Regions from separate parts of the Homo sapiens genome. Here regions 2, 3 and 4 are each linked to region 1. Evidence: promoter capture Hi-C in human tissues and cell types (Jung and others, 2019). All regions are on one chromosome and are shown on one strand. The core of a region is centred on a gene start or on the middle of the fragment in contact, and the rest is flanking DNA. Distances in the headings are between cores, read along the strand shown. Region 1 holds the start of KCNJ6 (potassium inwardly rectifying channel subfamily J member 6). Region 2 has its middle 46 kb from the start of KCNJ6. Region 3 overlaps KCNJ6 (potassium inwardly rectifying channel subfamily J member 6). Region 4 has its middle 63 kb from the start of KCNJ6.

Region 1 (5,986 bases), core at 2,740-5,239:
AGAAATACATTACTTTGTTTATCTAACAGTCTATATTCTCGTATAGCTTCATCCTCATAATGAACGTCTACTTCCCTTCTGCTGATAATGTCAGATGGAACAAGGCCAAGGAACAGCTGCGTTGTTTAATACTCCACGTGTCACTTCTTCTGTCTACTTTAGGTAGCAACCTTTTCATAAACTAAATTATGGATAAACTTGTCAATACCTATCAGGAACTGAAATGTAAGAAATAGTGTAATAACTCATCCTTTTGCTTAGGTTTGAAATAGATTGCTCTGTCTTCACTAGCAATCATTTGAAAAGACTGGAAGGTAGAAACACACTGCTTTAACCACATCCTGAGTGCTCAGCATGCAATATCTTTAGAAACAACATGTCACACTTGGAAAGCCCAGCAAGGAAAACCAGGATCATATCTTGTTTACCATTAAAAATAACAAACCAGAACCAGCTCAAGACCTCATGCACAAGTGCATCCACAAAACAGGAAAGCAGCCAGGGATATTGTTGAAGCTTTATCAACATTTCCAACCAGTTGCCAAACCTTGACTGGGCTCTGCAATTCAAAGTATACCTTGTAACACCTGGATGGCACTCTGACAGGCATTCTATTTCAAATATGACTGTCACCTTCCTGTATTATTTTTCCTCTTCATATCAGTGACAGTTGTGGTGGTGGGGGACCTACTACCAAGGATGAGAGCAGGGCAAAGACCAGCTTCTCGTAAAGTGAGAGCAGAAGGGCTTGATGGACTTACCTGTTTTCCCTGTATGAATGTTGAAATGGAACTTGAATGGTAATAAATCCTCCCCTCCTGCAGTTTCTTCCTTGTTTGTATTAAGAGAAGTGACTCCTCTCGGTTTCCTACGACTGCAACCTAGGAAATGTAGCCACCTTGCTCACACGCAGGCTTGAAGATGTGATCACTGGCTCTCATCTTGCTAACAAACTCTCTCTCCTTTTCGGAAGCTCACCAGTGTTGTTTTGATTCCTTCCAGTTCTAGACCGAGAGGAAACTATATCTCCACCCTCTTCAGTCCTAGGACCCTTAGAAAGAATTTGGCTGGGCCGGATACGGTGGCTCACGCCTGTAATCCCAGCACTCTGGGAGGCTGAGGCAGGCGGATCACAACGTCATGAGTTCGAGACCAGCCTGACCAACATGGTGAAACCCCGTCTCTACTAAAAATACAAAAATTAGCCAGGTGTTGTGGTGTGCGCCTGTAATCCCAGCTACTCAGGAGGCTGAGGTAGGAGAATCGCTTGAAACCGGGACGCAGAGGTTGCAGTGAGCCGAGATCGAGCCACTGCACTCTAGCCTGGGTGACACAGCGAGACTCCGTCTAAAAAAGAAAGAAAGAAATAACAAACTTGGTTGGCTGGCCTCTCGCTGACCAGGGTGCTTCCACAGCTCCCTTCTGCCATCTATGCCCAACAAAAAGTTAAAGAGAAGAGCGTGAGAGGGCAAGGGATGCATGCTTTTGAAAGCCAAAGGGACTCAGCTGAAACTAGCAACCCTCGTCAGAGGCGGATCGGGGTGTGTGTGTGTGTGTGTGTGTGTGTGTGTGTGTGTGTGTGTCTGTGCGCGCGCGCGTCCTTTTTCTCCCCCTGAGGACAGAATCCTGTCTCCACTCTCAGTTCAGCTCAGGTCTTTCCCTGTCCCAGTGTTCTTGATTCTGAATAGGTCCTCTGATGCACCGCCATGCATAAAATGGATGATTTGCAAGCTTCTTTGCCTCACGTAATTCCGTGGGTAATTTGATATCCAGATTCTGCACGAGCCAAAGACTCATTTATTTATAGAAAGTGATTGACCTCCAGCGACCAAAGGAGTGGGTACTGCTTGCTGGGGGCTGCAGACAGGTGAGGCTTCACCCTCGGCGCCTGGGCTCTGGCCTTGGTGCTGAATCCGGAACCCGCTGAGGAACCACCACCTCGGCGGCCCCCAGGCAACTTTCGGGAGGTTTCAGGGGCACCCGGCCAGCTCTGGGCGCCCTCTCGAGCGTCGCCGTCAGGGAGTTGGGCACAACCGATGCCCTGGGACCCGCCACAGGGCACGCGGCTGGCGTATTCCTTTGCCTGGAGCCGGGAAAGTTTTGTCCAATTTTTTTCCCCTATAACTGGAGCTGCGGTCTCCCCTCCCACCTGGGTCGCCATGGAGACTCGAGCTCTTTTTCTTTCTCCAGGCAAAATGGGCGAAGCTCAGTTAGCTCAGCCCTGACTGTAGCAAGCCCTTTTTTCTCCCTAAGCAGTTCCTGGGCATCACCCTTTTCCGTTTCTTTTTTTCAGCAAAAGAAAGGCAGGCAGGGAACAGGGCTAGCAGGATGTGGCATTGCTCCCTGTACCGTAGGGCTCCCCGGGACCGACAGACTTTGGATAACAGCAGTTGGGAAACACTCTAAACATATAATACATCTCCAACTCCCAAACACTGGAGTTGTGGGGTTTTTTTTTTTTTCTCTTCCTTTTTTTGGGGGTTGGAGGCGGAATTCTTTGGAAAATTCTGGTATTTTGTTTCTCCACTAACCTCACCCTCTGTGGCTGTTTCTATTAAGATATATTTTCCCCCTGACAATCTCTCCATATTGCACCTAGTACAACAGATGTACCTGTGGATCCACTGGGCTTTTATTGGGTTTTGGGAATACTGATGTTATTTCACTTAAAAACTAATCCAAGCTTAATGTTTTGATGAAAATGAAAATATATCCACAGGGAAGCAAATATCCACAGCCACCCAGTCCTCTAAATGCCACACACATCTCATTTTATCTAAAGTGTTTTTTCTTCCCTTCCAATTACAAAATAATTCAGTTTACTCCTAGGAAGATCTTCCTATTCACTGTTTTTAGTCATGCTAGCACATCTTCGGTTTTAAGGATAGAGAACAGTTAGGAGTTACAGTATTCTGTTTCCCATTCTCCGCATGTTTCTCCCCAACCCTCACTTTTCCTCCCTTTCGTGTTGTCTCCTCTCCTCTCCATGCAAAGCAGAACAAGAAGACTGCCTTCCACAAAGACAATAGGCTTTTCCCAACTGTAAATGACTACATCACAAGCCGCACCTGTCAGTTAATCAGTGCATTTAAGTCTTTGCCAGCGGATGTTGAAATGATGTCTGCAATAACTGACTGGGTTTCTGCGAGCCCAGGGATGCAGACCCCTCCTTCCCCCGCCCCCCGTGCGAGTTTCAGTCGCTAATGAAAACCGTATGAAACAGATTCCCCTTCTGTTATGTAACCGGCTTCTCCCTCGCCTTTCGGCTGACTTGGGCACAATGTTTCTCATGAGAGTGGAGATGCCTGCGGCGACGGCGGAGCTGGGGAAGGGGACGCGGGGACCCGAGAGCACGGAACGCCTCGCCCAGGTGGACGCCAGCTCCTCGCCTGCGAGCAGCTCAGCGCACCGCTTACCTGGCTGCGGACGGGGTGGCTTCACTCAATCATGATCTCCTCTCTTGAAACGGAGCAAGACTGAACAATTCACTACACGACGGATGGCGAGGGAAGGAAATGCAAAAAAGAAAAGGAAAAGAAAAAAACTGGAATCAGATGGTCAAATTTCACATCAGCACCGAGAGGCTGTTAGGAGACTCCATTCTGCTCGCGGCTGCTCCGGCTCCAGGTCCGGCTTCCCGGCGTCCGCGGGTCTCCACCCCTCCGCCCGCCCAGCCTCTCCAGCCAGGTGCGGCCGTCTCCGGACTGGCTCCCTCTGGCCGAGCGCGGAGAGCAGGGCTGGGCGCTGGGGCCAAGGGAGGGGCGGAGGGGCGCGCGTTTGGGCAGGGACGGGGGAGGGAGACTGGGTGGAATGAAGTGGGGAAAGATAAGAGTGGCAGAAGAAAAAAAAAATCCCCGGTTAGGAGAAAAGTGGTGGACCACGCAGAGAGACGTCATGAAATCCGCAGATTCAATGAATGCTACTCAATTCCAGCCGACTGGCTGAGCCCCGCTGGCAGCGCACGAAGCGACGCGGCTCCGAGATAAAAGCGAGTGCAGCGCCGCGTGCTGGGGAAAAAGCCGCACAGCGCCGGCGCGGTCCGGGAGGAAGGGGCGGGGGCGAGCAGGACAGAGCCACAGACCCAGAGACGCCCACCCCGCCGCCCATGCCAGCTAGCGTGTCAGCGCGTCGAGGACCGGGCTTGGTGGGGGCGGGCTGGGCACAAACCAACGTGCATCCCCCGCCACTGGAAACGTGGGTGCTCCATGCTGGGGGAATCTTTTGGGTTTCGGTCCCCGACCCCCCAGTCCCAACCTTTCTCCCAGTGCCACTAAGTAAGTTATTCCCGGAGAAACGCCTGGAAAGCAGGAAAGAGCCGAAGCTCGGGGAGCAGTTTTGTCTGCTGGTTGTAGGGGTTCGGCTTTTAGGGTTTTGTGAGATAAGGAAAAAGAGGCTCTGGGCACTGCCTCCCACCGGGCTGAAATCCGTGAGAGGCAGCCCCGGCGCGGGAGCCGGAGCCTGCACCGCCCAGAGGGGGCGCAGCGAGCGGCCGGGACGGAGGGGAGGGGCCCTATCCCTGAGCTTTGCTTGCACCTGGTGGCGCCCCAGCCTGCTGCCCCATTCAGTCCCTTCTGTCCTGTCCACTGCAACTGGGACCTGGTCCCGGCTGCTGCATCATCACCCCATCCTTATATGATGTCTCTGGGGTCACTGGAGACAAAGAATGGCCTTTTCCAAGAATGACCCAGGCTGCCTTCAAAGTTGAATTTGTCAGGATAAGCCCCTTAGACAAAGGTCTACTCCACTCTTTGAATCTAACTTGCTTTGTGCTGTTATTCCAGGGGCCCCTCATAGTGCTCCCCTCTTGCACCCCCTCTTTTTCTTATGGTCATCAAAAACAATGGTTCTACATTTCCAAAGTCTTCCCATAAATTGCTTCTACCTATGAACAGAACTCTCTTTTATGCTGTCTTTTTCCTAGGGATGAATGGATTGACAAATTGTAAGAGTAGCGAATACCATTGGCTAGTAATTTTATAATGGCCCTTTCAATAACTGGCTATTCTTGTGCTGCTTTATGAAGTGGCTTTCCTTCCACAAGGCACAGAATCTCTACCTCAAAGAAGGTGACCTTATTTTAGAGAGAAGGCTTACGGAAACCTCTTATTTCCAAGATTATTTTATTCTACATACATACATTTTAATTACCTAGCAATTCAGGTCCCCTCAAGAATGCTGTCTGCCCTCTAAAAATGACTGTAATATGGAGAGGTGTTTGTGTCAATTTGCATCCAAAGTCATGTAAAAGTCAACCGTACACACGGCCTGTGAGCTTGTATTTGCTGTTGATTTTCCCTAAGAGGTTGTAATCTGACTTGCTATTACTTCTGAGTCATATATCCCATATACAGAAGATATGAGTATGTGTAATATCTGTAGTATGTGTAATACGTGCTCCACAATGCCTGCTGGATCTAGTGATAGTGTTACAAATAAACAAAGAACAACTGAACCAAATAATCCCTGAGAGACCAGGAATACAAATGCAAGATGCAGGATTTCGGTGGACACAGCCTTAGAACATTAAAAGAACAACCCATGTTGACTATAGTTGTGTAAAGGGCATTCTGTTTAATCTGTGAAGCTGCTATGGGTATGCCTGCTAATTTTGATGATATATACTTTTACCAGTAGAATGATTTCACAAAGTATCTTTCTTACAAGATATTAGACTAAATAAGAAAGTCAAGAGTTGGAAGTAACCTATTTGTCTCCTTCAAATACTTTGAAAACTCCCCTACTTGAAACAGCTGCCGGGGTGATGTGGGCAATAGCACTTTGTGAATGGCATAAGAGCACGTGTTGAATGAGATGGATCCCATTAACACAGCCTGGGATTTGATAAACACCAGAGACAAGAGCAATTGGCTTAACTGAATTCATTCATTTATTCCGTAGAGTTCTGATAAAGTGATCTGCATGGGTGTAACTAAGAGACTGCAGCCACATCTGAAAATCAGGCGAGCTGTGCTTCAGAGCTGCAAAT
Region 2 (5,848 bases), core at 192-2,691, 45 kb after region 1:
TGGCAACAAGGAGATCAGCCAATCATTTATGAGGCAAAGAATGGGAAGTTGGAGGGTCTGGGTCTGGCCTTGTCCTAAGTAACAGAGAACATCATGAACTGTAGCTAAGTCCTGTGGGGAACGGTGTTTCCCAGAGCATGAAAGGGTGGGGGGAATTCTTTGAAACTTTGCTGTTTTTTCAGGAGCCCAGACTCAGCTAAAATTCAACCTTGTCACATTACAAAGTACATTACCATATGATTCCATGTATACGAAATACAAAAAAAAAAAAAAAAAAAAAAAAGACGAAACTAGGCTATAGTGAAAGAAAACAGACGGTGGTTGCCTGAGGCCATCCAAGGAGTAGGGACTGACTGCAGAAGGGCACAGGGAAACTACTGGGGGTGGCAGGAATGTTCAAAATCTTGATTGTGGTTGTCTTAGTCCATCAGGTGGCTGTAACAGAATGCTATATATCGAGTGGTTTGTACACAACAGAAACTTACCTCCCACAGCTCTGGAGACTGGGACTCCCAAGATCAAGATGCTGTCAGAGTCAGTGTCTGGTGAGGGCCTCATTCCAGGTTCATAGACTGCACCTATTCACTATGATCTCACCTGGTGGGAGGGACAAGGGAGCTCCCTGGAGTCTCTTTTTATAAGGGCACTAATCCCACTCAGGAGGGCTCCCCACTCATGACCTAATCACCTCCCACCTCCTAATATCATCACCTTGGGGGTTAGGATTTCAACATATACATTTGGAGAGAACACAAATATTCAAACCATAGCATTGGTGATGGTTGCATTGTATATACATGTCCCACAATTTATGGAACCATACATTTAAAATGGGTGTATTTTATTGTATGTGAACTATACCTCAATTGAATATATTTTAGCAAATGTCAAGTGGGTAGATCATAGTGGCCATGAGCTCAGGCATAGAAGCTGGGCAGGTGTGAACTTGACAAGCACAAATACATCACTTATGAGCTGTGAGAGAGATATTAGGCAATTGCTTATCCTCACTAAACATCACTTTCTCCATTAGTGCCAACCTCCTAAGACTGATTAGAGCTTTAAGGGCATGCACCTAGTAAGAACTCAATAATTTCAGCTGTTATTGCTGCTACTATCATTACGGTGTGTTTCCCTTTACATGCATCTCTTGGGCAATGTGATATAGTGGAGAGACAAGATTTCAAGGCAGAATATTTGGGCTTCAGGATCCTTCGGCTCAATGTCTTCAACTGTAAAACAGGAAAATATAATCATCACAGCTCAGCTGTGTTACAGTGTAGTTATGAAAATCAAATGTGAAAGTGGATGTGAAAATATTGATAAACTAAAGCAACCTCACAAGTGGAACAAGCTAATACATGGGATTAAGTGTAAGTTTCTTTTTTTTCTTTCTTTTTTTTTTTACTTATTCCCCTAGATTTTCTGGTCTTTTTCACAAAGATTATGGATTCTTCTTAGAATCAGGAAAAAAGTAATTTCCATTTCAGTAAAAGATGCTGTAGACCTGGAATAAGTACTTAGATATTTATTTGAAAAAATAGGTCCATAAGTAGAGGTGATGATAGAATTTATCTTCTATGGAGATGACTTTTGAAAGTGAAAGAGTATGCTATCATTAATTACACCAGTGCAAGTGTCATACACTGAAATGATCTGGGGAAATTAGAGACAATTGGTCATCTCTATATAAGGGACACTTAAGCTAATACTCATCCACAAATGCCTCTTAAAAATAAAAAAGGTACCACCTGAGGAAAGAGGGGTGTGGGAGGATGAAGAAGTTGGTGAATGGGTCCAAAAATATAGCTAGATAGAAGGAATAAGTTCTAGTATTTGATAGAAAAGTAGGGAAATTATAGTTAACAGTAATTTATTACGTATTTCAAGATAGGTGAAGAGAAGAATTGAAATGTTCCCAACACAAAGAAATGATAAATGTTTCAGGCGATGGCTGTCTCAATTACCCTGATTTGGTCCATACACATTGTATATGTGTAACAAACTATGGCATGTAGCCCCAAAATATGTGTAACTATGATGCTATCAATAAAAAATGAGATAACTGACATCACTGGATCTGAAAATTAAGAAAACATGGTCTTGCCTTTGGACCTGAGAGCTCAGAGGCACCTTTGTTAAGCAACGTCTGCTCACTTAAGGTGGAGACTTTCTAAAAGCTGGGAGCATAGTCCCATGACTGTCCCCCTGGAGAAACTCACACCTCCCAGGGGACTCCCTCCCCGTGAATAGATGAGGCTTGGGGCCCTCCTTCCATAGAAGAAGGAGGTTCTTCTATGGGAGTCAAGAAATCAAGAAGTGTGGATAATTCCATGTGTTTCTTTAGTTGTTAAAGAAATTTAAGTATTCTACTTTAGACTGTTGATTAAAGGTTATTGTTTAAAAAAACCTTAAAACTGTTTTGCATTTTGATCATCATAGTGAAGACTATTTGAACAAAGATCATCAATGGATGCCAAATCTATGGAAGAACACTTGCATAGTCTAAAAATGTCTCCCGGCCAGGCACAGTGGCAGACGCCTGTAATCCCAGCACTTTGGGAGGCCGAGGTGGGCGGATCACGAGGTCAGGGGTTCAAGACCAGCCTGATCAACATGGTGAAATCTCGCCTCTACTAAAAAAATACAAAAATTAGCCGGGCATGGTGGCGCTAATCCCAGCTACTCGGGAGGCTGAGGCAGGAGAATTGCTTGAACCCGGGAGGTGGAGGTTGCAGTGAGCTGAGATCGTGCCACTGCACTCCAGCCTGGGTGACAGAGCGAGACTCCATCTCAAAAAAAAAAAAAAAAAAAAAAAAGTCTCCCTATTGACCACTAAGTAAAAGCAAGAGTAAAAATTGTCAGTGTACAGCAGAGGTTCTATACAATTCTTTGCCCCAGAGACCAAAATGAGCATCCTCATTGAACTGCCGTGGACACTGTGGCCTCTGATGTGATGCCCTGAGAAGGACAAATCTTCTCCATGTAGATTTCCATTCAGGGAGGTGGTACCTGAATCCAAGCACAAGGAAACATCAGAGACCACTTTGAGCAATTCTTTAGAAAATGAATGGCCTATAGTCTTCGAAAATGTCAATGTCATACTACGGAGAGGCTGAGGAAATAGTCCAGATTAAAAAGCCTGGGAACACAATAAATACATGCTATTCATGATCTTAAACTGGATCTTAAACTGGAGGGAAGATTTCTACACAGAGCATTTTTTGACTATTGGCAAATTGGAATACAGTCTGTGTTTAGACAAAAGATTTGATCAATGTTAAATTTCTTGAATTGTTACCTATGGTTTTCTTTTTTTATTTTTGCTTTATTTTATTTATTTATTTTTTAGATTTCCTTTTTTTTATTATACTTTAAGTTCTGGGGTACATGTGCAGAACTTGCAGTTTTGTATAGGTATACACTTGCCATGGTGGTTTGCTGCACCCATCAACCTATCACCTACATTAGGTATTTCTCCTAATGCTATCCCTCCGCTAGGCCCCCACCCCCCGACAGACCCCGGTGTGTGATGTTCCCCTCCCTGTGTCCCTGTGTTTTCATTGTTCGACTCCCACTTATGAGTGAGAACATGCGGTGTTTGGTTTTCTGTTCTTGTGTTAGTTTGCTGAGAATGATGGTTCACAAACAAGCAATGGGGAAAGGATTCCCTATTTAATAAATGGTGTTGGGAAGACCGGCTAGCCATATGCAGAAAACTGAAACTGGACCCCTTCCTTACGCCTTATACAAAAATTAACTGAAGATGGATTAAAGACTTAAATGTAAGACCCAAAACGATAAAAATCCTAGAAGAAAACCTAGGTTTTCTTTTTAAAGAGAATATCCTTGTTCTTAGGAAATATGGCTTGAAGTATTAAAAGGTAAAGAGGCATGATGTATGAAATTTACTCTCAAAACTTTCAGAGAAAACAAATTATGTGTGTGTGCATGTGTGTGTATACACAGTCATTTACCAATAGACTTTGAAGGAGAGAGAATATGAAAAATAAATGTGGGCAAATATTAAATATTGATAAATCTGAGTAAAACCTACATGGGAATAGTTTGTATTATTTTTGCAACTTTTTTTGTAAGTTCAAAATTACTGTGAAGTAAAAAGCTTTTAAAAATTGAGGAAAGATGCTAAGTAGTGATGAGTGAATGATGACCGGAAGCTTAGAGACCTCAGGCTCTGATTAAACCCCCAGATGAGGCTGGGCACAGTGGCTCATGCCTGTAATCCCAGCACTTTGGGAGGCCGAGGCAGGGGGATCACCTGAGGTCAGAAGTTTGAGACCAGCCTGGCCAACATGGTGAAACCCCACCTCTACTAAAAATACAAAGATTAGCCTGGCATGGTGGCACGTGTCTGTATTCCCAGCTACTCAGGAGGCTGAGGCAAGAGAATCGCTTGAACCTGGGAGGTGGAGGTTGCCGTGAGCCAAGATCATGCCATTGCACTCCAGCCTGAGTGACAGAGTGAGACTCCATAAAAAAAAAAAAAAGCCCCAGATGAAAATGGTGTAGCTATGGGGATAAGCTAGGCCCAGAGATGCTCACATGTGGTTTAGGGGGACAAAGGAAACATGAGGATATCCGTTTCTCTTTGGGTGCTGTGATTTGGACTATGCAGACTCCACTGGGGTGGCATGAGGAAGTATTGGTAAAATCTGGCTGTTCTTGAAATCGAGCTCCTTGGAAGATCGTGATAATCAAGTGAGAGATCACTGCCCCACCAAATTTGAGTACTTACAGTTGATCACACGAAATAAAAATGCCCAATTATGATTACTAAGGAAGAGATCCTATATTGCTGGAATTATTGTCTCCCCAGAGTCAAGCGCCAGTGCCAGGGTCAGAATGAGTACTGAACACCAGAAGACTTCCTATCCAAAGTATTTGCTGAGCTACTAGGCATCCAGGTGGTCAAGAGGACAATGAGCTAAACTGATAGTAGCAATCAAGCCTCTATCTGCTTACTATGACAGTGTGAGCAAGAGGCAGAAAAAGAAGTGCCAACCACCCCCCTCCCCGTGTTCCATTTCCCCCATGGAGCAGTGCCAGGTCAAGATCAGCATGGACCTGGGCAATAGGAAACTGCAGAGGAGTGCCAGTCTAAGGTCTACTGCCTCTTTATGGACACAGAGGCTGGGGAGAGAAGGGGGACAAGGATGTTCTTTAGCCATGGATCCTGATAAGGAGGTTATGGTAGAGGACCCTGGACTAGGAGTGCAGATATGTTCATGAGTTGGGCTGGCCAGGCAGGGCTCAAGTCCCTGACTGCAGCTCCCTCTGGGGACTGCAATACACTTGCTGTATACCAAGACTGCTGTGGGGAGGGCAACTTCCCTGGAGAGGCCTGCAAGGCAAAGCCTTGTCACTGCCTGTGGTCGGACCTGAAAGATCACACATGGGATTTGGGCCGGAGCTGGACTTCTTATGATTTTCGAGTAAGAAAACCTGGGCTGAGTTGGAGATTGCCCTCCTTCAGGTGCAGTGAGCTGAGCTTTCTTCTCGTAGGCACTTGCTTGGGATCTGGGACTGCTGTTGGAATTCTCCCAGCCAGATTTTCCCAGTCCATGAGATCAGTCTGCCCTTGCTGCCGGGGTGGGGTGGGGGTTGTCTGCAGGTGCCTTGTTAGCTGGTCAGCACGCTGCTGGCTGCGCGCTCCTCCTGGCTTCATTTTCCTCTTCTCCTGCTTTCAGCAGGACATAGCTGGTCGTGACACTTCAGGAAACCTGGCGTTTGTGTGCACTTCCTGAGCTGTTTAGCACCACTGCTCAGAACCCCTGGAGCTGGGACCACCACCTGCTCTTGTGGGTTCAAGCGCTCAGAGAGAGGGTTC
Region 3 (6,574 bases), core at 4,006-6,505, 52 kb before region 1:
GATAGGAAACTGAACTGGAGTCTAGGAAGGGTTTTTCATTGTCCACAATTTTAACTATGGGCTTATATTACTTTATATATATATATATATATATATATATATATATATATATATATAAAATACTTAAAAAGCTCTACAGATGATTCTAGCCAGCACTGGGTGTTGAGCAGCCCCAGTTTTTCATTCCAGGGCTTCTGACAAGCTAATGGTAGTTGTACTGTATCTCAGTGGTAGGGATAAAGTGATGATTGCTATCTCTGTTTCATGTGGGTTTTGGCAGACCAGCAAAGAATTTCATTGATTTACTTGTGTCTGAAATTTCTTGATTTCAGAAGAAGGTTACAGTCAACTAAAAAAACATAAAAATAAAAACAAAAGCCCAATTATGAAGTTATAAAGTACTGGGGCTTTGGGTCTTCTAAGCTACCACTGATACTTTTGTCTTCATGCTAGAATGCCTGCATTTCAACTCCTCTGAATTAATAGAATGGCTTCTTAGCGTATCTCCTGGATTCTGACCTCTTTGCCTTTCAGTTCTCCCTCTTTCCCACCTTTACCCTGCTGGTCCCTTGCATCATGACTCCTTGTGGGCACTCCACAAGACACCCCGTGCCCTGGATGCCCAGAGTAACATGGCCCCAAGACACATGCTGCAGGTGGACAGGTCACCCGGTGCAATGGCTATTTCCATCTTTGCTCCTGTTCTTCCCCAGGCAGGAGTAATCCCAAACCCACCTGCTGCTCGGTCCTACACTGATTCCTTTTTCTCCTGAATCCTATTTTACACCCAGGTAATAGCTCATAATTTAGCCCTTAATTGTTCTCCAATTACCTTATCGGTGATAATTTTTCTCCAACTTGAGTTTGAGCTCCTTCATGGGAAAGACCATGGGGCTCTGTGTTCTAAGCCGATCCCACATCTTATGGCCTCCCACCATCCTCACAGCTACTAGCTTAGCTCAGGCCACCCTCCTTTCTCGCCTGGTCTACGCCAGGCAGGTCTCCCTGCTTTTCCTCTTGGGCCTCCTGTGGTCTGTTCCCTATATGGCAGCCAGAGCCATCACTGGCTTCGAAGTAGAAATAAGCTGACTTATTTCCCTGGCTTAAAACCCTTTCCAGCACACTTGTGATAAGATCTAAGCTTCAGGTGGCATGGAGTTCCTGCAGGATCTGTCCCTAGGCTCCCTCCACCCTCATTTCCCAGCCTTCTCCCCATCACTCACACTGCAGTCTTTGACTTTCTTGCCCAGTCCTTCCCCGGGGCCATTGTACTTGCCAGAAAAGCTCTCCCACTACCCCCCTGGAGTGGCTCTCTATGTCATATCATCCAGGTCATGGTTACAATGTCACCTCTTCCAAGGCCTTCCCTGACACCATATCTAGCATAGTTCCCATCTTCACTCCCTCATCACTTCCCAATGTTTTCCCTGCTTAATTTATTGTAGCTTTCGTCTTCATTGTGTATGTGGGTAGACAGTATAATCTGGGGTTAGACTCTCAGAGTTTAAATCTCAGCTCCACTACTTGAGCTGCATGACATTGGGAAAGTCCTTAACCTCCTTGTGCCTCATTTTCCTCATCTGTACAATAGGGATAATGTTATACATAGTTTATGAAACTACAGTGAGAATAAAAGGAGAGATTAATGATATGAAAACCACTTAGAAGGCTGACAGGCAGGAGGTGAGGACTACATCAATCTTTGTTTCTTTATTTACTCATTATTGCCCGACTCCCTACCCTAGACTGTCAACTCTGGTGTATTAGTCAACTCAGCCTACTGTAACAAAGTACCACAAACTGGAGGGCTTAAACAACAGGCATTTATTTTCTCAAAGTTCTGGAGGCTGGAAGTCCAAGACCAAGGTTTCAGTGGGGCTGGTTCCTTGGAGGCCTCTGTCCTTGGCTTGGGGATGGCGTCTTCTCCCTGTGTCCTTATAGGGTTGTCCCTCTGTGTGTGCCTGTGTCCTCATCTTCTCTTCTTATAAGACCACCAGTCAGCTTGGATTAAAGCCCACCCTAGTGACCTCATTTTACCTCTATCACTTCTTTAAAGGCTCTATCTCCAAATACAGTCCCATTCTGAGGTACTGGGGGTTAGGACTTCAACATACAAATTTTGAGGGCATGCAATTTAGCCCCTAACATCTGGAGAAGTAGGGTTGCGACATGGTTAGCCCTGTATCTCAGCAGGCAGACATGCATTTTTCAGCACACTTCAGTGTCTCAGTAATGACCCCTTGGAAGCCTGAGAGCATTTCCCACAGAGCTGGTCCCTCTGCCCCACAGCCATAAAACATGGAGTGACTACTGGGTGCCAAGCTGAGAAGGTACTTGAGGAATGTCCTTGAGAAGCACCAAACTGGGGAACACTCCGGGCCTTGGATTGTGTTCACTAAAATTTAAATGACTCCTTCATAGCCCAGTGGCAAGTAGGGGACCATCAGCCTCACTGAGGTGTTGATGCTGGGCCCCTGGGCAAGCTGGTGACTGGAAAGGAGAGGAGGGTGTGGGTACCCTGAGCTTCCAGTAGTGGGGCTGTAGGTCAGCACTCAGTCAAGTGGGTGGCTCAAGCCCCGCTGCAGAACACACCTCCACTCTAATCAAACAAGCCCATGTCTATCTCGTTCCTTGGCCTGCTCCTCAAGCCCCAAGTAAGGCTTAGAAGACAGCCCTTCTTGGAACCAGTTTCCAATCTTACATAAGGTGTCAGAATCGCCAGTGGTTGGAATTCTTCCATGAGAGCTGTGGAAAAGGGCTGTATTTTGCTTACAATCAGGTGAACCTCACTCTATACAACAGTTGAATCCCCCAAACATTGTGTGTGAATTTTAAGTCCAAGTCTACCTTAAATAGGCAGGGCTGGAGGGGGTCACTATTTATAGTAAATATCCAATGTGCTTTTTTTGGCAAGCAGAGAAGTCTTCTATTTTAACTTTTCTGTTTTGTAAATGTCACCTTTATACACACAGGCATGCATGCATGTATACACATTGTGGCATTCAAGTCTGTGAGGACCAAGTATCTAGCTGTGCTTTAATTCTAAAAGGCGAAGGCTTTGTTAAGTAGCTCAAACTGCAGGGGAAATTATGATCTGAGTTCAAGCTAATATATCACGAAAAAGCCTAGACACAGCATCTGTCAACTTGGGTGATCTTGCTTCTATCTGGGCAGCCACCTGGTAAATTTGTATTTTGCAACAGCAGCTGCAGAGACTGTGTTTACCCTGTGTAGATAGTCAGAGAAATATGAAGAAACTGGGGGTTCTTCCTCTTCTATTTGTGCTAGCGGTAGGCTGACTTAGTTGAACACATTCTGGCAGTTTTGTAAAAGAGTACAATGCCTTAGAATTTTGAGCTGCTAAGTCGGTCCCCTCAACAGCCAGGGGAGAGACAGGGCAGACATCTTGACTGATGTGTGACATCATTTGTTGCCAGGAGGAAAAAGCAGGACTGGCTCCAAGATGAAGCAGTCAGACCTACAGGAGAGTAGCCACAGCTACTGGTTTTCAAAAGGTAGGACAGAGACTCTTAAAAAGGCTAGGAAGATTCGGACAAGGTGAATGGAGAGAGCCAACAGCAGAGCCGTGCTCATGAAGAGCATAGACAATCATGGAGAGCATAGACACTCGACATTCACAGCAGAGAATTACTGGTGAAGATCAATGTAGTAAAACTGAGGAAAGAGGAAAAACATGTTTTATAGTCTTTTCTTTAACATTTTGCTTATTTTGTGTTATTTGATTCATTAATATTTTAGGCACAGTAATTCCTGATTTATTAGTATGTCTGCTTAAATGAGTAAAACATGGAGTAATAAAATTTTAGGTTCTTAGTTTTTGAAATTCAGAGATTGTTACGCCTGACTACTTACTGTGCCTCCACAGTAACCAACACAGTAGCCCCAATGGCTGGAAGCGAATTTGACTCTTTGCCCATATGCTATACCCTCAGCTTCTTAATATTGATGGGTATCGCACAGGTACCAACTTTGATTTATTGCAAATCTGATTTAGAGTGGGTACAGAGAGACTTGAAAGGGCTGTGTCCATTTATGACTGAATTTTTGAGAGTTTATTCTTCAGGAAGTACCTCTGGTGCCAGACATTTATATTTTTAACGATTTGGATGTATTTTGCTTTATGCACAGGGTGTGGTTGATATCTACAATCGTTTTTGTGCATCAGGAAATAAGGTTATTAAAATATTATTAAAATAGGTTTCCACAGGCACTTTGCTACATGTGACAAAATGCATAATTAGCTGGAATTAAGAGCTAATAGGTTTATAACATCAACGCCCCACTTCTAAAATAATATTTAGCTGCTACTTATGTGCACTGCTGTAACTCTTGTAAGAAAAAAAATGCTCCATGGCTCCTAAAAGTCTTATTGGCTTACATTGTCTCTTTAAGCAATTTTAAAATATAAAGGTTTTTTTTTTTTTGTTTTTTTTTTTTTTTGGTGAAGAGAGAGAAGGTGAGCTTCTGCTATATTGGCAGTTTGGAGGTTGAGTTTAAACTGCTTGAAATGATGGGACCTCAGGAAAGACCATATGAAAATATCAGCTTTTCAGGCCAATGAGTCATCCGGCATCACAAGCCGGGTTGTGGGGCTTGAGGCCGGTTTCAGTCTACGTCATCCAACAGCTGACGCTTGACAGAGACACAGGAAAGGAATATGCAATTCTCCAATTCTCTATTTTTTTTTTTTGTTTTAGGTAGATTCTCACCCTGTCACCCAGTCTAGAGTGCAATGGTGTGATCTTGGCTGACTGCAATCTCTGCCTCCTACATTCAAGTGATCCTCCCACCTCAGCCTCCCAAGTAGCTGGGACAACAAGTGTGCACCACCATGCCTGGTTAATTTTTGTATTTTTAGGAGAGAGGAGGTTTCACGTGTTGGCCAGGGTGGTCTTGAATTCCTGACCTCAGGTGAGCCACCTGCCTCAGCCTCCCAAAGAGCTAGGATTACAGGTGTGAGCCACCATGGCCGGCCAGGAATATCCAGTTCTTTAATAGTGTTTCTTTTTTAAAACATTGGCATTCAGATTAAATATCTGTATGCCATTGTTTAATACACCGCAAAAACAAGTCAGGTGAGAGATGAAACCTAGAGAGAACTAGACAACAAGTTACCCAGACTTGTAAGCTCTGTGCATGATTAGGTAGCTTCAAATACAAAGCTTTGAAGATGTGCAGGGGTTTCAGAGGTGGAGGGACTCAGGCCCTTCTGGTAGGGCCACGTGTTTGCATTGTCTTATTGGACTGTTACAGGAGCTGTCTCTTCAAAGGCACTTGCTCCTAGCAAACTTATGCCTTTCCAAAGTCTCCTCTAAAAATGAGTAGAGGACACTTTGTTTTACTTTTACTGAAGTGAAAACACCAAGGCATGCTTTAGGGGTCTCTAGCACTTCTGTGGGTACATCAGTCCCCATTCTCCCCATCTGTCTCTCTCTCTTTTTTTTTTTTTTTTTGAGACTGGGTCTTGTTGTATTGCCCAGGCTGGTCTTGAAATTTGGGGCTCAAGTGATCCTCTTGCCTTGGACTCCCAAAGTGCTGGGATTACAGGCATGAGTCACTGTGCCTGGCCCAGAAAAAGATGTTCTCTATGCCCATGAGGCTTCAAGAGAAGCTGGTTTCCTTATCTTCACTATTTAGAGCTAGATCCCAAGTACCTCCAGGATTGAGCCCTAATCCTGACCCCAAACATAATTTGTGTACAGAAACTCCGTGTAGGAGTGTTAGAAAAGCTGGAGGCCCTATTGATAGGTGATTCAGATATGCTGGGAATAATGTAAAGTGTGTGTCTGGTGGAAAGAGCTGTATTTTTAACGTGATGCTGAAATCACCAAGAAATACTCTACTTCACTTGATACGAAAAACAGAAGTTACCATTATACAGAAAAAAAGTGGAGGAGGCCTTATGCAAATATTTTCAGATAACCGTATATACTGTTTTTTTGCCAGTCGTGTCCCATCATGTCCACCCCCAGTTCTCAGCTGTCTGCATGGGCAGGAGAGGAAAGGAAAGACACTGGCTGGAGGGGGAGGCAGGGGCCTGACTCTTCTGAGCTTGAACTGTCTCATTCTGTACAATACGGATCCAGCTCCTCTTTGAGAAGCCAGTGGTAGAACAAGCAATTTTTTGAGCTCCTTATAGCTTATCTAATTAATCATTTTATGAATGGAGGAGCCAGCTTAGAAAGAACTTGTCCATGTCATACCCCTGTTAAGGGCTGAGGCACTACGTGCTCTTGCTGATGCTTTCATAAATGATAACTCAGGCACTTTCCCACTGTCTGGTTTTTATGGGGTGGTTTATAATTTGGTGACTGGGGACTTCAACACCCCACTCTCAGTCTTGGACAGATCATCTAGATAGAAGATCAACAAAGAAGTGTTGGATTTAAACTGCACTCAAGACCAAATGGTCCTAACAGACATTTACAGAACATCTCACTCAACCGTTGCAGAACACACATTTATGTGCTCATCAGCACATGAAACTCTCAGCAGTGTAGATCGTGTGTTAGACCACAAACCAAATTTCAACAAATTAAAAAAAATCATATCA
Region 4 (6,202 bases), core at 2,083-4,582, 63 kb after region 1:
TTGATTTCAAGTTTTATTGTCTTTGTTTCCAAAACGGTGGATTAGAAGCATGCTGCCCTTTCCCACCTACTCTATAATCCCTAAAAGGTTGAGAGCAGATGGGACACGATGGAAGAGGGATGCCACAAGCCAAGAGATGGCCATGCATACACGTCCATAGATGTTAGCAGCATACAGGGTCCTCCTTATCTGAGATGGAAGAAGTCGGGGCAGGCAGAGTCCAGGGGAAACCTAAGGGGTGGTTTGCTGGGGAATGACCATGGTGGTCATCAGCCAGATTCACTCCATTATGTCTCCCCTTCCTGAGACATTTGATCTCTAACAATGTTAGAGAGCGACAACAGGCTCAATAAATGGAAAATCATCTGCTTGAGGAAATGGAATTAATAGAACAATCAGGATGTATAATTAATACATCAAATAAGTAAGTTTTAAAAAATAAAGTAGACATCTTAAGAATGACTGCTAGACTGAGCCAGCAATATTTTTAACAAGCGCTGTCTGATACCTAGAAAATAAAACCAGATTCTTTTAGCTTAAGGAAAACAAAACAAAATGAAGGAAAGCAAAGCAAAATAGTTGATTTTGGGGGGTGGGAGGGGATTTTACCATCTCATTCATTTATTCATTCAACTCATATGTCGAGCACACTATTGTAGGTGCTGGAATACAGCAAAGAAATAAGAGAAATGTGGTCCCTGTTGTCATGGAGCTTAGAGCTGGAGAATGAAAGGAGAGAGTAAAAAGAGTTAATCAATGAAGCAACAGTGAAATATTGATAGTGGCATCTGTAGAGACTGAAGTAGAGAGATGCAATAGAGAAGAACTATGATGCCTACTCTAAATTGGTCAGGAAATGTAAGTGACATTTGAAGATGAAGAAGAAACCAACCATGTGAAGGTGAAAAAAGAGGAGGAACCATAACGCTGGGGCTTGGAACCTATGGGAGAAGGGAGGAAGGTTATAACATTAGGCTGGAAAGACTGATCGGGGTGAGATCATGGGGGGCTTTGTGAAATGAGAGAGCTCATTATATCATCCTCAGTAAGTTGTCATTACACCACTGTGTTTTTGACACACATCAGTGTGAAATTACTGTTGTAAAAAAGGCTAACCTGGGTGGCAATAAAACTCATCATAGGCCACAGACAATTTGAAGGAATTAATTTGCAGGATTGGTTAAGGGAAGAACACTACTAGATGAGAACAGAAGGCCCTCTTAATTTATTTAAAGAACAAATGGCAGCTTAAGGTAAAAGCAAAATATATGACCACAGTAGCAAAATTAGAAACTACTACTTATTGATAAATACTATTAAGGAAATGCAAAGGCAAACTGCAGACTCTGAGAAAGTATTAGCAACACATATACTTGACAAAGGCTTTGTACCCAGAGCACATAAAGAACTCCTACAAATCAATATGGAAAAAGCCACAATCCAATAAAAAAATGGAGCAAAATTCTTAACAGAAACTCCACAAAAGAAGATACAGGAATAGCCAATAGGAATATGAAAAGATGCTCAACAACATTAGTCACTAGGAAAATGCAAATTAAAACCACAAGATGCAATTTCACACCCTCTAGAATTAGCTAAAATTAAAAAGATTGATAACATCAAATGTTTGTGAGGATGCAGAGCAACTGCAACTCTCATACACAGCTGATGGTAGCCTAAGATGACACAACCACTTTGGAAACTGTTTGACAGCTTTTCACAAAGTTAACTATATACCTCCTCCTCCTTCTTCTTCTTCTTTGTTTTTTTTTTGTGTGTGTTTTTGTTTTGTTTTGTTTTTTGAGGCAGAGTTTCCCTCTGTCACTCAGGCTGGAGTACAGTGGCATGGTCATGGGTCACTGCAGCCTCTACCTCCCCAGGCTCAGGTGATCCTCCCATGTCAGCCTCCCAAGTAGCCGGGACTAAACACGTGCACCGCCATGCCTGGCTAATTTTTGTATTTTTTGTAGAGACTGGGTTTCGTCACGTTGCCCAGGCTGGTCTTGAACACCTGGGCTCGAGCAGTCCTCCTGCTGTGGCCTCACAAAGTGCTGGGATTACAGACATGAGCCACTGCACCTGGTCTATACACCTTCTTAATGACCTATCTATTCTATTCCAAGGTATAGCCCAAGACAAATGAAAATGAAAATATTTGTCCACAAAATGTCTTGCATAAGAATATTTATAGGAGGTTACTCATGCCAGTCAAACACTGAAAATAATCCGTGTAATCATTGAAGGGAAAATTACTAAAAATTTAATTAATAAAGGGAAAATTGTGGTATACACACAAAAGTGTTTGTCACTGATACAGGTAACAGCATAAGAGAATCCATAAAACATTGCGTTGCGTATAAAGAAGCTAGTCACAAAGAATATACACAGCATAATTTAATTGATGTGACAGGAAAGAACAGGCAACACTAACTTAGGCTGATAGAAATCAGAACAATGGTTGCTCTTGGGAGTGGGGACTCAGTAGAGGTTTCTGAGTGATGGAAAAGCTTTCCACCTTGATGATCTTAATCATGGTGGGAGTTGTGTGGGTGCATACATCTTTCAAAATTCACCAAACTATATACTTAAGATATGTGCCTTTTACTGTTTGCCAATTTTGCTCCAATTAGAAAAGTTGGGGAGGTATAGGAGGAAAGAGATTAGCAACAATGAGAATAGTTTGCTCCTTGAAGGAGTTTTACTTGGAAGGGAAAAGGGAAAAGGAATGGTAGAATGGTGACTGGAGGGGAAGGAAGGTTCAGAGTTTTGTTTGTTTGCCTGTTTCTTAGACGGGAGAGGTAATAGCATGTATGTTTGCTGATGAGAAAGATTAGCAACAGAGAGAAAAAATAAATGGTTCAGGAGAAAGTGAGCAGATGTACAAGAGGGAGGTCCTTGACTAGGGAGGAGGGAAGGGATCAGGAATGCAAGTAGGGCACTGGCCTTTGCTAGGCATTGGGAAGGGTTCCTCTGGAATAAGAGAGATGGCATTCTAAATGGGCACTGATGCAGGATTACTATCCAATCATTTAAAATGAGGCCAGTTTGCAACACTGAGTTTTCCTCCACTCTTATGCAGCCCTGCCAGTGTAGGTGGGCAATGAGCGTAGACTTGGGTTTTAATAGTGTTTTGGTTTTGCCAAGTTAGCAATACTAAGTTAGAAGGGGAGAGGGAAATTGATGAAGTTATTATCTTGATTGACCATAGACTGCAAGTTGGCTTAAGATGTTGGTAAGGACGAAACGATGGTAAGGGATAGGAAAAAGTAGAATTTGCGTGGTTGATCCTGTTGGTGCTGAAGAAGTCGGAACTGAGTTAGTGCAAGAAAGATGTTGGGAAATGTGAGGTAGTGCTGGGAAAGTGAAATGCCTGAAACCAAACAAAATAAAATGATTGAGGATGACAAGGTCTAGGAAGGAAGAGGTTGAGAGAAAGTGAAGGTAAAATCTTTGCAAGAGAGGAGGTCAGGGAATGGAGAAGACAGAATACTGGAAGATTTATCTCATGGATATTGAAACCTCGAATTGTTGATATCCTCAGTAGTGTTGATGAACATGTCAGTAAACTAGGAGCTAAATCTCCAAGGAATGAGCGGCAGTGAATGGGAGTCGGTCAAGGATGATGACCAGCAGGGCAGGAAAGTGGTGTATTCTGATGACGTGAAACTCAGTGCTGGTGTTTTGATGGAGGGAAAGAAAGTCTGCTCTGGAGGGAGAGAGGGAACACTGTGTCAAATGCTGCAGAGAGATCACACTTGCCTCCAGGCCAGGGCTGCAGAAGAGAAGACACTACCAGCAAAGCTGCAAGAAGAGTACACAGAAGAAAATGAATGATCTACATGTACTGATGTAGAAAGACGTTAGAGACATACTGTTAAATGGGGGAAAAGCAAGTTACAAAATGGTTCTGTCTGCATGAATTGTTTGGTCAGTTACAAATGAGTGGAAAATTAATGGTAAGTCTCCAAACTATAATTGCAGTCATCTCTGCATGGCAGCAATGGGGGGAACTTTTATGTCTGATTTTCCCACATTTTGCTATACCTAACAGGACAGAGTGAGTGCCCATTCTGGACCAGAGTGACTAGATTATATTCTCACACCTGCCATCTGAATGGTCATGGCCAAATTCTGAGCTTCCCTAAATCTCAGTTGTTTCATCTATAAATTAGGAATAAGTAATATCTACTTATGTTAATTGTGAGGGTGATGTAAGAAATCATGTGAAATATCACAATACGACACTTAGAAGGTAAAAGATAAAAGAACAATTGTTATCCTTACTATTGTATTTTATATAACAGGCATAGATTGCTTTTCTATTTAGAAAAAAAAAAAAAAAACCGGGATTTTTTTTTAAAGGAACTTAGTTAGAACACAGGCCCAGAGGAATGATCACCCCCAGTTCCACACACAAATAACTAGAATTAATAAAAGAACAAATGGGATGGGTGACGGTGGTGGAGAGCTGATGGATTCCTCTGAATAGTAATTGATTTGAATCTAAAACCAATGAACAGATTCTTATCACTTCACAGGGAGCCAGCGAGCCAGCTGTTTTTCAAGACGGTGTTTTATTTTGACTTTCATACACTCCTCGTGTATCTTGTCTGCAGAAAGTTATCTCTTGTGCTGTGGGAAGTAGGGGCCCTGAGCTCCTCGACCTGCTGACCCCCTCCCTGCGAAATAACCAGGTGTGTGGCAGGATTCTCAACCATGCAGAGGAGATGGGTGCTGAAGTGAGGGCCAAAATGTGGAAACTCTTTTTTTTTTTTTTTTTTTTTGAGACGGAGTCTCGCTCTGTCGCCCAGGCTGGAGTGCAGTGGCGCGATCTCGGCTCACTGCAAGCTCCGCCTCCCGGGTTCACACCATTCTCCTGCCTCAGCCTCCCGAGTAGCTGGGACTACAGGCACCCGCCACCACGCCCGGCTAATTTTTTGTATTTTTTAAGTAGAGACGGGGTTTCACCATGTTAGCCAGGATGGTCTCAATCTCCTGACCTCGTGATCCGCCCGCCTCGGCCTCCCAAAGTGCTGGGATTACAGGTGTGAGCCAGCGCGCCTGGCCAAATGTGGAAACTCTTATCCTTAGATTCCACCTGGTTGCAAGAGGGGCCAAAGAAAGGCATCTTGGCGGCTAAGCAGGAGTCGAGGTGAAATCATTGATGGAACAGACTAAGCTATACTGATATTTAGACCCAAGTTCGTTAAACAACAACAAGATGCTTGCTTTTCAGCCCCACCTTTTGACTTCCTAAAATAAGAAAAGAATCCCTTTCCATTTTCCATTTCAAACCACAGTGAGTAATGGCATCTTTGAGCGCTGGGGCCTAGAGGAAATTCTATTTGTGGGATAAATTAGGAATATTAAAGAACTCTCACCTCTGGGGTACTGAATCAAAATTTCAATTGTGTACTCAAGCTTAAAGCTTTAGACCTAGGCAAACCCCTCCCAACCCCGTCTTTGTCGTTTCCCCCTTGTGGGAAGTCTGGTCTGTGGTCGTTGTCTTTGAATCATGCAAATTAGGAGAGCATGTGTGAAGTCCTTTTATAATTTAGATTCTGTGCATGTAGCTCATTGGCCATCAGGAAGGGTATCTCAATTCAGATGGTCACTTGGGAGGGGGGCTGGATGGAAAAGAGAAATTCTCAATATATGAAAATGGTTTGAAATAGTAATTTCCCTCAAAATTCTCTTTCTCTACTTGTATGTCTGTCCTCTACAATGGAGCAGACCCGTAATCCCCAATCACTCCCATAACTCACCTTCCTGGGGCTGTGGCATGTGCAGTGGTGTGTTGTTTATACAGCCTGTGTGTTTGTACTGTGCTGTCCCACATGGAGGCCTCCATCTGAATACAAGGGCTGTGAGCATTTAACCTGGCGCAGGGTATAGTACACCTGGCTCGTGGATTTTGAATAAAAGTCTCTCATCACTCTTTCTGATTTACACTTAGAAGCCATTTTTCTTAAGCCCTTTATGTTGCTAAATGCATTTCCTTACCCCTCTTCAGCCTGAACACCTTTGGGCAAACACATAATGTCCCTTTCTTCTACTCTTGGAAGGAGCTATGAATCAGAAGGAAGTGGGATTTCCTTCCCGGGTTAAACTACCAACATAGGTCACACTTATATGCTTGCTTGCCTCTGATTCTTAAGAACATCAAACTCATGCCTCACTGGGCTAATAAAAGTTTATTTTT

The links. The method cuts DNA at HindIII sites, captures the fragments that hold promoters and counts their contacts. A contact is called where the count stands out against the background at its distance.
Region 2: a contact is called between a fragment that was not itself captured here and the fragment with the promoter of KCNJ6 in region 1, in 1 of the 25 tissues and cell types used here (thymus).
Region 3: a contact is called between a fragment that was not itself captured here and the fragment with the promoter of KCNJ6 in region 1, in 6 of the 25 tissues and cell types used here (IMR-90 fibroblasts, aorta, dorsolateral prefrontal cortex and 3 more).
Region 4: a fragment that was not itself captured here is called in contact with the fragment with the promoter of KCNJ6 in region 1 in 6 of the 25 tissues and cell types used here (H1 embryonic stem cells, aorta, dorsolateral prefrontal cortex and 3 more).

The regions. Positions count from the first base shown.
Region 1 is chr21:37,912,468-37,918,453 of GRCh38, forward strand. It overlaps KCNJ6 (potassium inwardly rectifying channel subfamily J member 6), which reads right to left and starts at 3,990. Exons shown (of 4, transcript NM_002240.5): 1 at 3,417-3,990. The HindIII fragment of the contact is 8,322 bases long and covers 2,208-5,986 here.
Region 2 is chr21:37,959,970-37,965,817 of GRCh38, forward strand. No RefSeq gene overlaps it. Among named protein-coding and RNA genes, the nearest start is that of KCNJ6, 46 kb to the left of the region's middle. The HindIII fragment of the contact is 5,417 bases long and covers 1-4,150 here.
Region 3 is chr21:37,859,415-37,865,988 of GRCh38, forward strand. All of the region lies in intron 1 of KCNJ6 (potassium inwardly rectifying channel subfamily J member 6), which reads right to left. Among named protein-coding and RNA genes, the nearest start is that of KCNJ6, 54 kb to the right of the region's middle. The HindIII fragment of the contact is 4,187 bases long and covers 3,163-6,574 here.
Region 4 is chr21:37,976,597-37,982,798 of GRCh38, forward strand. No RefSeq gene overlaps it. Among named protein-coding and RNA genes, the nearest start is that of KCNJ6, 63 kb to the left of the region's middle. The HindIII fragment of the contact is 4,184 bases long and covers 1,241-5,424 here.